Regions from separate parts of the Homo sapiens genome. Here region 2 is linked to region 1. The links are contacts of gene promoters, found by promoter capture Hi-C in blood cells and fetal thymus (Javierre and others, 2016). All regions are on one chromosome and are shown on one strand. Each heading gives the region's core, a stretch centred on a gene start or on the middle of the fragment in contact. The rest is flanking DNA. Distances are from core to core; before and after follow the strand shown.

Region 1 (6,328 bases), core at 2,106-4,605:
CATTCTGAAAAAAGAGAATATTACCATGAACCATTCTAATTGCAGGAGGCTTTAATAGAAAATTGCAATTTTTATAGCCTCCCTCCATATGGCATGTAAGTCCTTCTCTTCACACAATTCCTTTAGCCATAAGATGCTGACTGTGAGTCCCCAAGACAACAATCTTAGCAAACTTAGCTGCTATAGAGAGGAATGCTGCTAGACTTCAGGACCTCTGAGATCTCTTCCACCTGGGTTTCCCTTAGACTGAGGTCACTTATGTAATAGCTTGAGGTTTATTAAATATTGAAAGTAATATTCTCTAACGACAGCACAACTGCAAGCAACACTGAAAATCCTGAAGAGTTTAAAAGGTTTATGTGGAGATGTATCTCTAGCACAACAGAGAACTTGTGGCCATTTAATTATGTGAAAAGAAGCCTCTAGAAAGACAAATTTCAATTACTATAAAAGCTTTTCCTTTCATGGTTATCAAGTCTAATCGTGATAGAGGATGTTTGGATCTAGAAAGGGTGTTAGATGTGCTTTAGTTCCCATCCTTTCCGCAAATGAGGAAATGGAAGCTCGGCGAGGTAAATGCCCAGGATCACACATTTGCCTGGCAGCAGAGCTGGAATCGGGCCTTTTGTTCAGCATTCAATGAGTCTTGCTTTGTGCTACTTTTCTTTTCTATATCCCTTCCTAATCCTGCCTCAAGACTCAGCTCAAACATCACTTCCCCTAGGAAGAGAGAACCAACCTGTCTTTCCTTTTGCCTTTGCTGGATTCTTTACATTCTTCTATCAGAACATCTGTAGTATTTTATTGCATCTATTTGCTTACATCTTTGATTTCCCGATAGACTGAAAACTCCTTAGAGTAGGGACGAATCCTATTCTTCAAATGCCCAGTGCCAGGTTTAGAAGTTGGTGACTTATGTTAAGATGGAACACCTGAAATGTTTATTTAGGATTTAAATCTCACCATTTTCAAAAGAATTGGAGGCAGTTAATAATAAGTACATGAACAGAAATAAGATTGAGGATAAAAATCCTCATGTGATGTCTATCTGGACTCTAGTAAAGTCAATGCGATAAATATGGTGCCTGTGTGTATTTGACAACACACTGTTTACTTTCTGTTGTTGCAAAAATTTCCTTTAAAACTCATCTACAGAATGAAGAGCAATATAGAGTTGGGAGAAACCAAATTCATAAAAAAAAAAAAAAAGTATACACCTAAAGAAGATGTGGGGAAAAAAAGTATCAGACACTTACTGAGCAATTTAAACTTAGTCTAAAATATTAAAAAAACAATTTCCCAGTAATACCTAAAACTACTGGTACTTGTGAAAAATGTGCTACCAGAACCCTAGCTAAGAAAGTGAGCTCAAAAAGTCATGGACTAAAAATTTTTTTTAGGGTTAAAACTAAAAAAGTGTGTTTCACTTATCTTGAAATTTTAATTAACAAGAACAAACAATTCCCTGAGTTTTCAGATAAGATACTACCATAGCACTTTATTGACATTACTGAATTCCAAATATACTTCATAGAGCATTCCTAAGGAAATGACTTGATATGACAATTAAAAAAAATTAAAAAGCAGCAGCAAATAGAGTAAAAGGGCCTTAGAGGTCAGTCAAATCTTATCCTTTTGCAGTTAAAACCAAGGCCCCAAAATATTCACTCATGCATAGTCACAGATTTTAAAACAATTCTTTTAGATGTGTTTCATATTTTATCATCCATTTATACTAATATTTGACCAAACAGTAATATGTGACCAGGAAAAAAAGTTTTATGTGTCACATCACAGGACCACTGTTCTGCACACAGCTTCTATTTTAGGTGTGGTAACTGAAGCATGGTTCATTTTTGGATCTCTGACTTAATAGCCTTGAGCCTTAGCTTCCCCTTCAGGAATGTATCTGCTGTTGCTTCAATTTCATACTGAGGCTTAATCAATGTTTACAAAATAGAGACCTAGCTAGAAAATCATGGCCACAAAAACTGACTTTAAGAGTACAGCTAATAAAATCTCCATATTACTGGTCTTGCTATCTACTCAAAAGGTGACTCCAAAAAAAACTAAGACAACAACCTAGTGAGCCATGACGTGCTTTGAAAGAAAATGTCTTCTTTAGAGTGAAGTCACAATGTAAATATATGCTATTCCAATATTTTTTTAATGAGCTGCAACACGCAAATGGAAAAATAAAGAACTAGCAGAGAAAACTGAGTTGGGTGCTGTTCCAGGGCTCCAAGAGCCTGCAAATGACTTGCAAATGACTCATGAGGCTGCTAGTAAAGGGATACAAGATCACATGGCCTTAAAACCAGGCCCCACGGCTGTTTGACACCCAGTAGTTGCTATCTTTGGCATCTCCAAATGAGGGCATCTAGGAACAACCAGCAAGGCTGGAGAAGCCAGTGTTACTAGCAATTCTTCATCACACTAACTTGACCCTCCTTTCAACTCCAGTGTGCAAATTTGCTTATTCACCAAGATTGGCTAAAGCAGCATCCCTTTAACAGAACCCTTTCTTATACCTTGACTGGAAACATGTAAGTAATTTCATTTTCCTCTGGTTTAGATCACTGCTAACAGTTGATTTTTTGTCATTTAAGAATTCTTTGACTATTTACAAATAAATATTCCAACAAATAAAGATAATTGTCTATGAAAAATTGCCTGGTGCTTTATTTTTTAACCAGGCAGGTGCTTGGTATCAAACCACAGAAATAACTCACACCAGTATTGCTTGCCACAAAATCAGAATTGTTATAATAGGGCATAATTCAAAGCTAATAAGCAGTGTTATTGAATGAGTCATGGTAATTTGTTCTTTAATTTCATTTCCCAGTCAATGCCTCTTCACATTCAGGAAGTAATTTTTAAAATCAAGTCTAAATCATTTCTATCAAAAATGAAAAACACAGAGCACATGCAACAAAAACTTCCCAGACTCGAGAATCATAATTCAGTCTCAGTAGAGTAATAGCATGCAAATTACTTACAAAAATGTGAGCTTTGACTGCTAGGTTACCAGAAAAACAAAACAAAACAAAACAAACAAACAAAAACTAATTGTTCAGAAGCAACTACAACAAAACTTTTCTACAAATTCTGTAGTTCTCTCTTTGCCTTTCTTCAGCATACGGGTGCTCCTATGAGACCCATAAGCCCCAGGATGAAACTGTTGGTCTATATTGTGTCAATTTAGCCAAGCAGTGTAAGATTCCAAATCCTGACTTTTTTCATAATGTCTAAGGTTTTTAGTAAATATATTACTAAAACTATGCTTTAAAAAGAAAACAACAAAAAAACACCATGCCCTGATTTAGTTGGTAACTGATGAGGTTTTTATTGGACTGAAGTTACCGTCCTTATCTGGCTGAAGCAACTGTTAGCTGACACCACCTTTCCAGCACTCCTGCCATGGTATGCTTCCATATATAAATATCCTGTAGCAGGCGGAAGCTGCCACTATGATGACTGACTTGCAAACACTCCAGACAAACCAGAGAACTGCAATAAACACGGACAGAATATGATTATGACATCATAACAAGGATGATGGCAGGTCAGACGCCTAGTGCTTCCAGTAGCTACAAAAAGCGATTGTGAGTGGGCGATTTCATGGATACAGACCCACCACAGGTGAAGGAAGCACTCCATCTCATCGGCCGCCTTTCCTTTACAAAGGCTTTGTTCTGTGAGTGTCTGCACATCCTCCTTTCTCAGGAATAACAGCCTTCCATATATGTGGTTCCCTCACATACATGCCAAGGAGCTTCTGCCCTCTGCTGTACATAAAAGATGCTACAGTGATGAGGAGACCAACTATCTCAGCAGGATACTAACAGTGAGGTTGTGAACAACTGTGCAATCCTTTATCATCCTCACTTCCATTGCCATAGCTTGATGGACATTATTCATCTTTGAAACATTTTTCATGTCAGTGAGAAAATAGGTGTTCCACAAAATTTTCTTTGAGACAGAGTCTTGCTGTGTTGCCCAGGCTGGAGCGCAGTGGCATGATCCCAGCCTACTGAGACCTTCCTGCTTCCAGATTCTCCTGCCTCAGCCTCCCAAGTAGCTGGGATTACAGGTATGTGCCACCATAGCTGGCTAATTTCTTTATTTTTAGTAGAGATGGGGTTTCACCATGTTGGTCAGGCTAGTCTTGAACTCCTGACCTCAAGTGATCCACCCACCTCGGCCTCCCAAAGTGCTGGGATTACAAACTTGAGCCACCATGCCCGGCCCAAAATTTTCTTTACACCTATATCCCATACGGACCTCACTCTGCTTTGGGGGAAGAGGAATGTCATTTTTTTTTTCCCTTCACACTACCTAGTCTAAGAGGGAATGTCATTTTTTCAAGCCTCATCTGTACCCAAAGACTAATTCTTGGAGGAAGACAATATAACTAGTAACTTTTCTCAGAAACATACGTTAAAAAGCTATGTCAAATTTCTCTGAATAATGAAAATGTTCATGTTAGCTATTATGCTGTTTTTAAGAAATCTCCCAACTACCTGATCTGCCTTGAGCCATGTATCCTTTGAAGATATAATAGAAGTAACTGCCTCATTTTGGGGCGTTTACTACTTTTCCTCTCCTGTAACTTCTAACTTTGTGGAATATTAACTTCCCCTGAAGGAGGAAGGAAATGGAGACTAAGGAATTTAATTGTTGAGGGATACACTGATTATAAGTGGCAGAGATGAGATGTAAACCCATACCTCGCATTCAAGTCTGAATTGAACTATACACCAGTGAGGGGGATAAGACTGCCTTTAGACCAGTTAGACTTCTGGAAAGCCACTTAAGAACAAAGCAAGACAACCTACTTCATTTTAACTATAACATACCTGCAAGACCACCTTTAAGAAGAGTTTTGGGGCCGAGTGCGGTGGCTCATGCCTGTATTCCCAGCACTTTGGGAGGCCGAGACAGGCAGATTAACTGAGGTCGGAAGTTCGAGACCAGCCTGACCAACAAGGAGAAACCCCATCTCTACTAAAAATACAAAATTAGCCGGGTGTGGTGGCACATGCATGTAATCCCAGCAACTCAGGAGGCTGAGGCAGATTATACCATTGGACTCCAGCCTGGGCAACAAAAACGAAACTTCATCTCAAAAGAAAAAAAAAGAGTTTTGGGTCACAAAAAGAGATATTCTCACATGAAGTGTCTAATCTAGGGACATTCTCAAGTATTTGCTTTTTCTTTCATATATTACATCTCAGGGTATCTAAATTCACTCCCAGGAAATTTAGTACCCATCAAAGAGGAGTCACAGACAATGAATACTTCAAAATGCTTGAGCCTCAAAATAATGAAAGCGGGCAAAATTAATCAAGAATCAAGCAATGAACAACTAGTCTATAACACAACATTTTTCTACTTTCAAGAAAACACAAGCATTCTTACACATTGAACACCCAGCCACCCTTGTCTAGCAGTTACCACAAGTTTCATGAATAAAGTCACCTGCATATAAATTCAACATGCAGATTAACACTCTATACCTTCTTCCTCCCAAAAGCCCAGTAAAAAAGCAGGAGTACAAATTACAAAACCAGAAAAATTAAAATAGGAAGAAACAATACTGAAGAGCTCAATAAATGTATTGAACATGGTAAGAAGAGTGGTATCTGCCTTAGCAGGGCTATCACAGATGAGTGACAGTAGGACTGATCCTGCAGAATTCAGGCAGGCCTAGGATTTAGAGGCAAGAGTGTGGCATGGAGCTACACAGAGGCAAGTAATTTAATGCTAGCCAAAAACAAAATGCAATACAAATTGGAAAATTGTCTTAGAGAAATATCCCAGACAGAAAAAAAAAAAATAAATAAGGCCCAAGATTCAATTTGGGAGCTCCACTATGTCATAGAGTTCCAGAACAAAGAAAATGAGGAGGAAGAGAAGAGATGAAGAACTTAATATTTTCCAGGTTGCCAATCCCACCAAAGCACAGTATCATGCAATTTTAGAACACTAGAAACAGAGATGCTGAGAAAACAAAGAAATAAAAATAAAAACTGCATCAGATATCTCAAGATTTTGCAAATTAGAATAGAGCAATGCCTTCAAAATTCTGAATTTGAATACACTTGTCAAAATTTTCAAAAATTCCAAATTTGATTTTCCACCTAGAATTTCCATGCAAACTATCTTTCAGAAATATGAAGTCACTAAATAACTGACTGATCTCTCACGCACTCATTCCCAAGAAACTACTGAAAGAAGTGCTCCATGTTAACAAAGAAGTAAATTAAGACATGGGATCCAGAAAATGAGGGATACAATTCAAGAGAAAGAAAAACAAATCCTCACG
Region 2 (7,026 bases), core at 1,477-3,976, 570 kb after region 1:
TCCAGCCTGGGAACAGAGCGTGACTCCGTCTCAAAAAAAAAAAAAAAAAAAAAAAAAACATGGGGGAAAGGGTGGGAGGTGGGTGAGGGATAAAAGACTACAAATTGGGTTCAGGGTTTACTACTCAGGTGATGGGTGCACCAAAATCTCACAAATCACCACTAGAGAACTTACTCATGTAACCAAATACCACCTATTCCACAATAACCCATGGAAATAAAAAAATTAAAAATATAATAATTTGGCTATCTTAAAAATTAAAACATAAGAAGATAAACAAAGAAGGAATGAAAAAGCTGAAAGAGAAGTGCTATCTTTGGAGTATGCATACAGACATATTCACAATGATATGACATTAAAGTTTTCTGTACTTCTTGCCTGGAAATTGAGAAAATAATATATGATAAAAAGTGTTTTGCATCTTCTGTATATCCAGCTAAGGTAATGTCCTTATAATTGGGGTAAAAATAATAATTTTTCCTACTTTACTGACTAAATTCTCTTTTCTTTGTCAAGGTGTCCTGTATTCTGCTAAATTCTCCTCACTAGAAAATCATGTCATCATGAGTTTCTACTGTATATATTATTAATATAATCCTGGTTTCATTATAATCGGCTTTGTTACTTATGTTTCAAGAAAATCTCTATCAATATCCTTTAAATCCTTAAATTAATATGTCTTCAGATTTGTGTTCATGCTTTTGATATTTGATAAGCAACTATTCATAGGCCTTTTGTTTTGTTTTGTTTTGTTTTAAACCTCCCATTTTGATGTCAGTATTTTTTAGGGCAAGGTGACCTTCATCTACTTCTGGAATAAGTGTTGGCGCAGGAACGTGCTCCACCAGACTAGGGTTGGAGGAGAGATTTGGGGGTTGGAAGCCAGGCTGCCTCTTAGAGTTCTGCTCATTTTCTCCACTTGCTATGAACCTCCTTATGAATGGGAAACTCAGATGTTGAAGTTGGAAAAGTGTTATTCAGATATGATTCATATAGATTCTGTCGATTTCGTCGGAATATTAACCCTTAGTTTAAAACCATGATATTCTAAATTTGGGCTTGTTGCAACACATCAGTTTCTCTTTATTCTATTTCTATTCTGTTTTTAACTCGGGTATCTCTCATCTGTTTTAGGTTTAGCAGTTTCCTTACAGCTATTGCACGGAGACATTGAACAAATCAGAAGGGAATATTCATCAGTATTTTCTCATGGAGTATCCATAACAAGGAAGCTGGGATTTTCAAATATTATTATGCCTGGTAGGTGACTTGGGACGTACCGATATGATGAAATATGGGTATACTATCTGTTTTTGATGTTTGAGAAATTTTTCAAATTGCCAGCTTTGAAGCATTCACATGGGCCATGCTGAAGAATGAAATGAGGTATGTGACTGTAAGTAAGCACATTTTTTTCTAAAATATCCTTTTCAGTTTAATTTTAAAATATTTCCTTTTGTATAAACTTTCTTGTCAGTGATTTGAAGCTCAAAAATGTCTTTACATTCTGATTATTCTAAAGTTGTTAACTTGTGGGGGCCATGGCTACATTTCATTATGACCAGGAGAAGGAGGAAAACTGAGTTACTGTCCAGAAAATATTGTACTCCTTGATGGAAAATGTTGGTGAAGATGCTTAGAGGATATCCTAAGTTTTGATAAAAACGTACTGAACACTAGTTAGCCATATGTAAATAAGCAGCCATATGCAAATATTATATGTACTTCTATACCTTTTCTAGATCTATTTGTGTGTATGATTTAGATCTATATTAGTGCCCCCAAAATTCCCCAAAAGTAGAAAAGATGTGGGTTAAGCAGTTTTACAGTGTGACATGAATGCCAGATTCATTGAAGCTGATGCATTTGGGAGTGGGTCAGTCGTAATCTCTCCACGAAAATAAATGTTTAAAAGCACACCCCTTTATGTGCTTATGGAAATTTAGGGTTTTCTGAGTGTGTTCATCTACAACTTATGAATTGGATAAGAATAGTACGTTTGCTGATGAGGAAGGATGTGTGTTTAGCAAAAATTGATTTAGTCAGTCAGCAGGCATTGATTGAGCATCAATCAAAACTTTGTGCCAGGAGCCAAAAGTTAAAAAGATGAGTTCATTCATTCTACAAATAAATATTTAGCACTTTCTATGTACAAAGGCATTCTTCCAAATACTGGGGCTATAAAACTGAACACAACAGAAGAAACCCATAGGACTTACTTTGTAATAAGGAAAATTATAATAAATATGTAAGTAAAACATGTATGTTCAAAGATGATGAATGCTCAGGTGAAAACCAGTGTAGGTAAAGGGCTAGGGAATGTCTTAGAGGGTAGTGGGTGGAGAGATGGAGATTTGTGGTAGGTAAGAAATTTAGGTGAGAAGGCAGTAGAGTAGAGACCTAAAAGACATGAGGAAGCCGTGCAGATAAGAGGATTCCAGGCATAGCAACAATAAGGGCAGTGGTCCTGCAGCCATAGAATCGTGGCTTGTTTGAGGAACTGCAAGAAGGCTAACTTGGTCAAAATACAGTACTGGGGATGGGAATGGAGATTCGAAGAGGGAAGTCATGTGGACCTTGTAGGTCACACTCAGCACTTTGGGTCTTATTCAGAATGAGAAAGGAAACAGCTAGAGGGTTTGGAACAGAGGTGTGACACTGCTTTACATTGCCACAGGATCACTGTGGTTGCTGTATAGAGATTATACCTGGAGGGAATATGGGAGGGCAGCAGAGAAACAGGGAGACCGGTTTGGAGGCTGTTTGAACTAATCCAGGTAAGTGGTGATCATGGTGTTGAGCAAGGTGTTAGCAGTGGAGATGGCGAGAGTAAGACCTGTTTATACTTTGAGGGGGATTACAGTCCACAGGCAGAGACACGCTGTAACCCGAAAGGAGTTGGAGAATGCAGCATGGAGAGCACAGAGGAGTTGTAGAATCTTATTGAAGGAGTCTCGTTAAAATTTCCTGAGGAGGTAACACCTGAGCAGGGTCTTCAATGCTAATGATTCTAGGCCCACATCCCCCGAGTCTTTGTTCTCCACTGCACTAATAGCAAGTACCTGCTTTAATAGTGAAAGACTGTGTAGTCATAGCCAACATGGCTGTACCTCTGATGTTTCTTTTGTTTCTTTGTTTGTTTGTGTTTTCTTTTTTAGAGATGGGGTCTCACTCTGTTGTCCAGGTTGGTGTGCAGTGGCACAGTCATTGCTCACTGCAGTCTCAAACTCCTGGGCTCAAGTGATCCTCCCACCTCAGCCTCCTGAGTAGCTAGGACTACAAGCATATACCACCACACCTGGCTAATTAAAAAAAAAAAAAAAAAATTGTGGCCGGGCGCGGTGGCTCATGCCTGTAATCCCAGCACTTTGGGAGGCCGAGGTGGGCGGATCACGAGGTCAGAAGATCGAGACCATCCTGGCTAACATGGTGAAACCCCATCTCTACTAAAAATACAAAAAATTAGCCGGGCGTGGTGGCGGGCGCCTGTAGTCCCAGCTACTCGGGAGGCTGAGGCAGGAGAATGGCGTGAACCCGGGAGGTGGAGCTTGCAGTGAGCGGAGATCGCGCCACTGCACTCCAGCCTGGGCGACAGAGCGAGACTCTGTCTCAAAAAAAAAAAAAAAAAAATTGTAAAGATGGGATCTCCCTATGTTGCCCAGGCTGGTCTCTAATCCCTGGGCTCAAGTTATCCTTCTGCTTTGGCCTCCCAAAATGCTTGGATGATAGGCTTGAGCCACAGTGCCTGGCCCACCTCCAATGTTAAAAGGAGATTTCTGGCCTGACGCAGTGGCTCATGCCTGTAATCCCAGCACTGAGGCTGAGGCGGGTAGATCACCTGAGGTCAGGAGTTCAAGACCAGCCTGGACAACATGGTGAAACCCCGTCTCTACTAAAAATACAAAAAATTAGCCGGGCATGGTGGCATGTGACTGTAATTCCAGCTACTTAGGAGGCTGAGGCAAGAGAATCGCTTGAACCCGGGAGGCGGAGGTTGCAGTGAGCCAAGATCCTGTCACTACACTCCAGCCTGGGCAACAAGAACGAAACTCCATCTAAAAAAAAAAAAAAGGAAATTTCTATGCTCTAAAAAATTTTAATTTCTAAAATTCTGTGAAAGTCATAATTTTGTGAGAGAATAGCCTTTTAAAAACTTTTGAAGTTTAAAAGCAAAAAAAAAAGAAAAAGTCTAATTGTTATTTAGTAATGAACCACTAGAGTTCTAGAAATTTCACACTGTCCCTAGGAACACAGGGCTATGACCAGCTGGGGTTATCTTCAACAAGCCTTGGTTCTGTCTATACCTATCTATTTCTTTGTGTGTGTCTGGACCTCTTATTTTCTTTCTCTTTTCCTTTCTGTCTTGATCTTAATCTTTCTTTTTCTTCTTATCTTTCCTCCCTCCTCCATCTTCTTTCCTTCTCCTCCTCCTCTTCCTCCCCCTCTTCTGCTTCCTCCCTCCTCAGAATAGGACTAAGCTACACAGGTTATTGTGGCTTACATTTAAAATTTTTTTGACATATCCTCTTGTTTTTACAAATCAAGAAATGAGTTTTTTTAAGTCATGAATTTTATTATAAAAGGACCTCACTTGTGTTTGATCTTCCATAGAAACAAAGAGCTTCTGCCCTTTTGTCTACAGATAGAAGATGACGAATAGCATACTAAGTAGTAGTATTTCTGGGTGCTCCATACCCCACCCTCCACAACCAAGAAAAGGGAAAAACAATAGACCAAATAAAATACTCTTAAATTGTTGACAGTATTTGTTTTAAATGAGGTCTTCTAAACCACTGTTTAAATCCCATGTGTAAGTGCAAGCAAAGGAAGTTGTATCTGACAAGGCACCTGGCATAGCTATGAGACCCAATAATGAGATTGCTATGAATAAAGACCTAAAATGACCAGTATCGCCCATTGCACCATTTTGTAATTGCCCGACTGAAATTCCTTCATGCAAGGAAGGCTGAGAGAACATCCTGTAAGTTTTCCTCAGATGACCTGACCTAGCTTAGGGACCCAGTCAGCCTGAGCATCTCATGGTACTGTTGTCGAAAATGACTGTTTATAGAACTGTTTACTTGGTGGCATGCTATTCTGTGGCCCTTGCAACTGTCCATTATTTCCTTCAGTTGCTATAAATAACTGGTATTTCCTCTTCAACAACAAAAAAAATTCATCCCACTGGGAAGCAAATTGATGGGCAAATCTAATATATTAAAAAAAAAAACATTTTAGAGCAGAATGCAGCCAGCTGCTGGAAGAATTCCTCAGCTTGGTCTCTGGGCAGTATCATGGAGAAATTGAAAAATATAAAGCAAGATGACACTTCACTGGCTGATTAATTGTCTGGGATCTGCTGTGCTCACGCAGCTTTTGTGTGGCTTTAATGATGGGCATGAACTTCTGTGGAATAAGGCTCGTTTCTGTCCCTTTCCGGTACCACCTTGTAATGCGAAGTCTACACTGTCCAGGAAAATTGTTCTTTCAGACATGTGTCTGTAGTTCAGGGGAGTACAAAAGAGGTTTTTTTAAAAGCACTTCCTTCTCTTTTTTTTTTCCCTTTCTTCCTCTGGCTTTTTAATCTTCCATAATAGAAAAGGGAGAGATGTGTGTATTTCCTTAAACAACTGAAAGCAACTTTAAAACTCAGTGGAATTTTTTACACTAGGAAACATGCAATCATTGTTTTGTTTTCCTTTGTTACTTTCAGACTTGTCAATTCATTCTCACCAGTGGCTCTAATGAAAACTTGAGCTGAATTCTTCCATGAGAAAGTGTGTGTGAACAATATTTCTGATCCCAATGTTACACTGACCGTCTGCAAGCATAATTTTTTTTTCATTGTCTAGATGTGTCCTTCAGAGTTAATTTGCATCTTTAGCATTCTGATAGGGTCAAAACAGGTGAGGCACATGATTATACCAACAGGACCCAGTTTATGCACACAGTCACCGCCTCTCTGCAGAATGAATTATCTGTGATCCTGACAAGGACAAGAACATACACAAAACTCTTTTCGATCACAGAATGTAATCAATGCCAGACTCTTTTTGAAATGGGAAAAACGTAGGCGCAGAAATTCTCCACTTGTCTCACTATTGTACAGACAGGTCTCCTGGTGTGAGGAGGTACCTGTCCATATGCTTCTGAGTCATCATGAAGTCCTCTGGACTCTTCCTTGGTTAAGGGTCTGTCACACAGCACTTTATTTCTTAGAGTGTCAGACTTCCAACTGAGAAAAAACATTTTCTGTGAAGCTCTGTCACTGCCACCTCCAAGCCAAATAACTGATTGAAGGCGTTCCACGGTCTGGGCTATGAGAGGGAGGGAGAGCAGCAAATTATTTTAATCAGTGCTTTCCAGTAGGAACATCATTTGAGCGACAAAGCTAATTTTAAATGTTTTGGTAGCCACTTTAAAAAAGTGAGAATAAAAGAGATGAAATTAGTTTTAACCATATATGTTACTTAACTTAAAACATCCAAAATATTAGCGTTTTAATAGGAGATCCATATGAAAAACTACTGATGAGTTATTTTACACTCTGTTTTCAACCTCAGTCTTTGAAAGCTGGCAAGTATCGTACATGTACAGCATGTCTCTTTTCAGCGAGTCACATTTTAAGGGCTCCATTGCCACATGTGGCAGTGGTCACCCTGTTGGACAGCCCAACTCTAAACATCTTAACAGACCCTAGGCAAAGCAGGCCTGGCCTATTGCTAAGCATCAGGGAGATCCAAGTTTCCATCCATCAGACATTCTGGAGCAAAGCTGGCTGATGTATCAGGAATGGCATGGAAGATCTGACTGTCTTCCCTGCTCCCCAAATGTCCATTTTTTACTCTGTGATTCTTTCCAGGCAAAATTTTCTTTGCCTCCATCATGATTTCACTATTTAAGCTTTCATGCCTGTACCCTATTTCTTTAGAGACTTGTTCCCACATATCCATTGGTTAAACTGTCATTCTTTGTTAGGGAACCCATCATTTATACATTTCAGTGCATTCACTTTTAGTAGGTCTT

Evidence for each region. The method cuts DNA at HindIII sites, captures the fragments that hold promoters and counts their contacts. A CHiCAGO score of 5 or more calls a contact.
Region 2: a contact is called between a fragment that was not itself captured here and the fragment with the promoter of LSMEM1 in region 1, in 1 of 17 cell types (neutrophils). The highest score is 5.5, in neutrophils.

The regions. Positions count from the first base shown.
Region 1 is chr7:112,478,018-112,484,345 of GRCh38, reverse strand. LSMEM1 (leucine rich single-pass membrane protein 1) reads right to left here and starts at 3,355. Exons shown (of 4, transcript NM_182597.3): 1 at 3,000-3,355. The HindIII fragment of the contact is 7,612 bases long and covers 456-6,328 here.
Region 2 is chr7:111,910,013-111,917,038 of GRCh38, reverse strand. It overlaps DOCK4 (dedicator of cytokinesis 4), which reads left to right. Exons shown (of 53, transcript NM_001363540.2): 13 at 1,135-1,260. Among named protein-coding and RNA genes, the nearest start is that of DOCK4-AS1, 110 kb to the right of the region's middle. The HindIII fragment of the contact is 8,358 bases long and covers 1-6,905 here.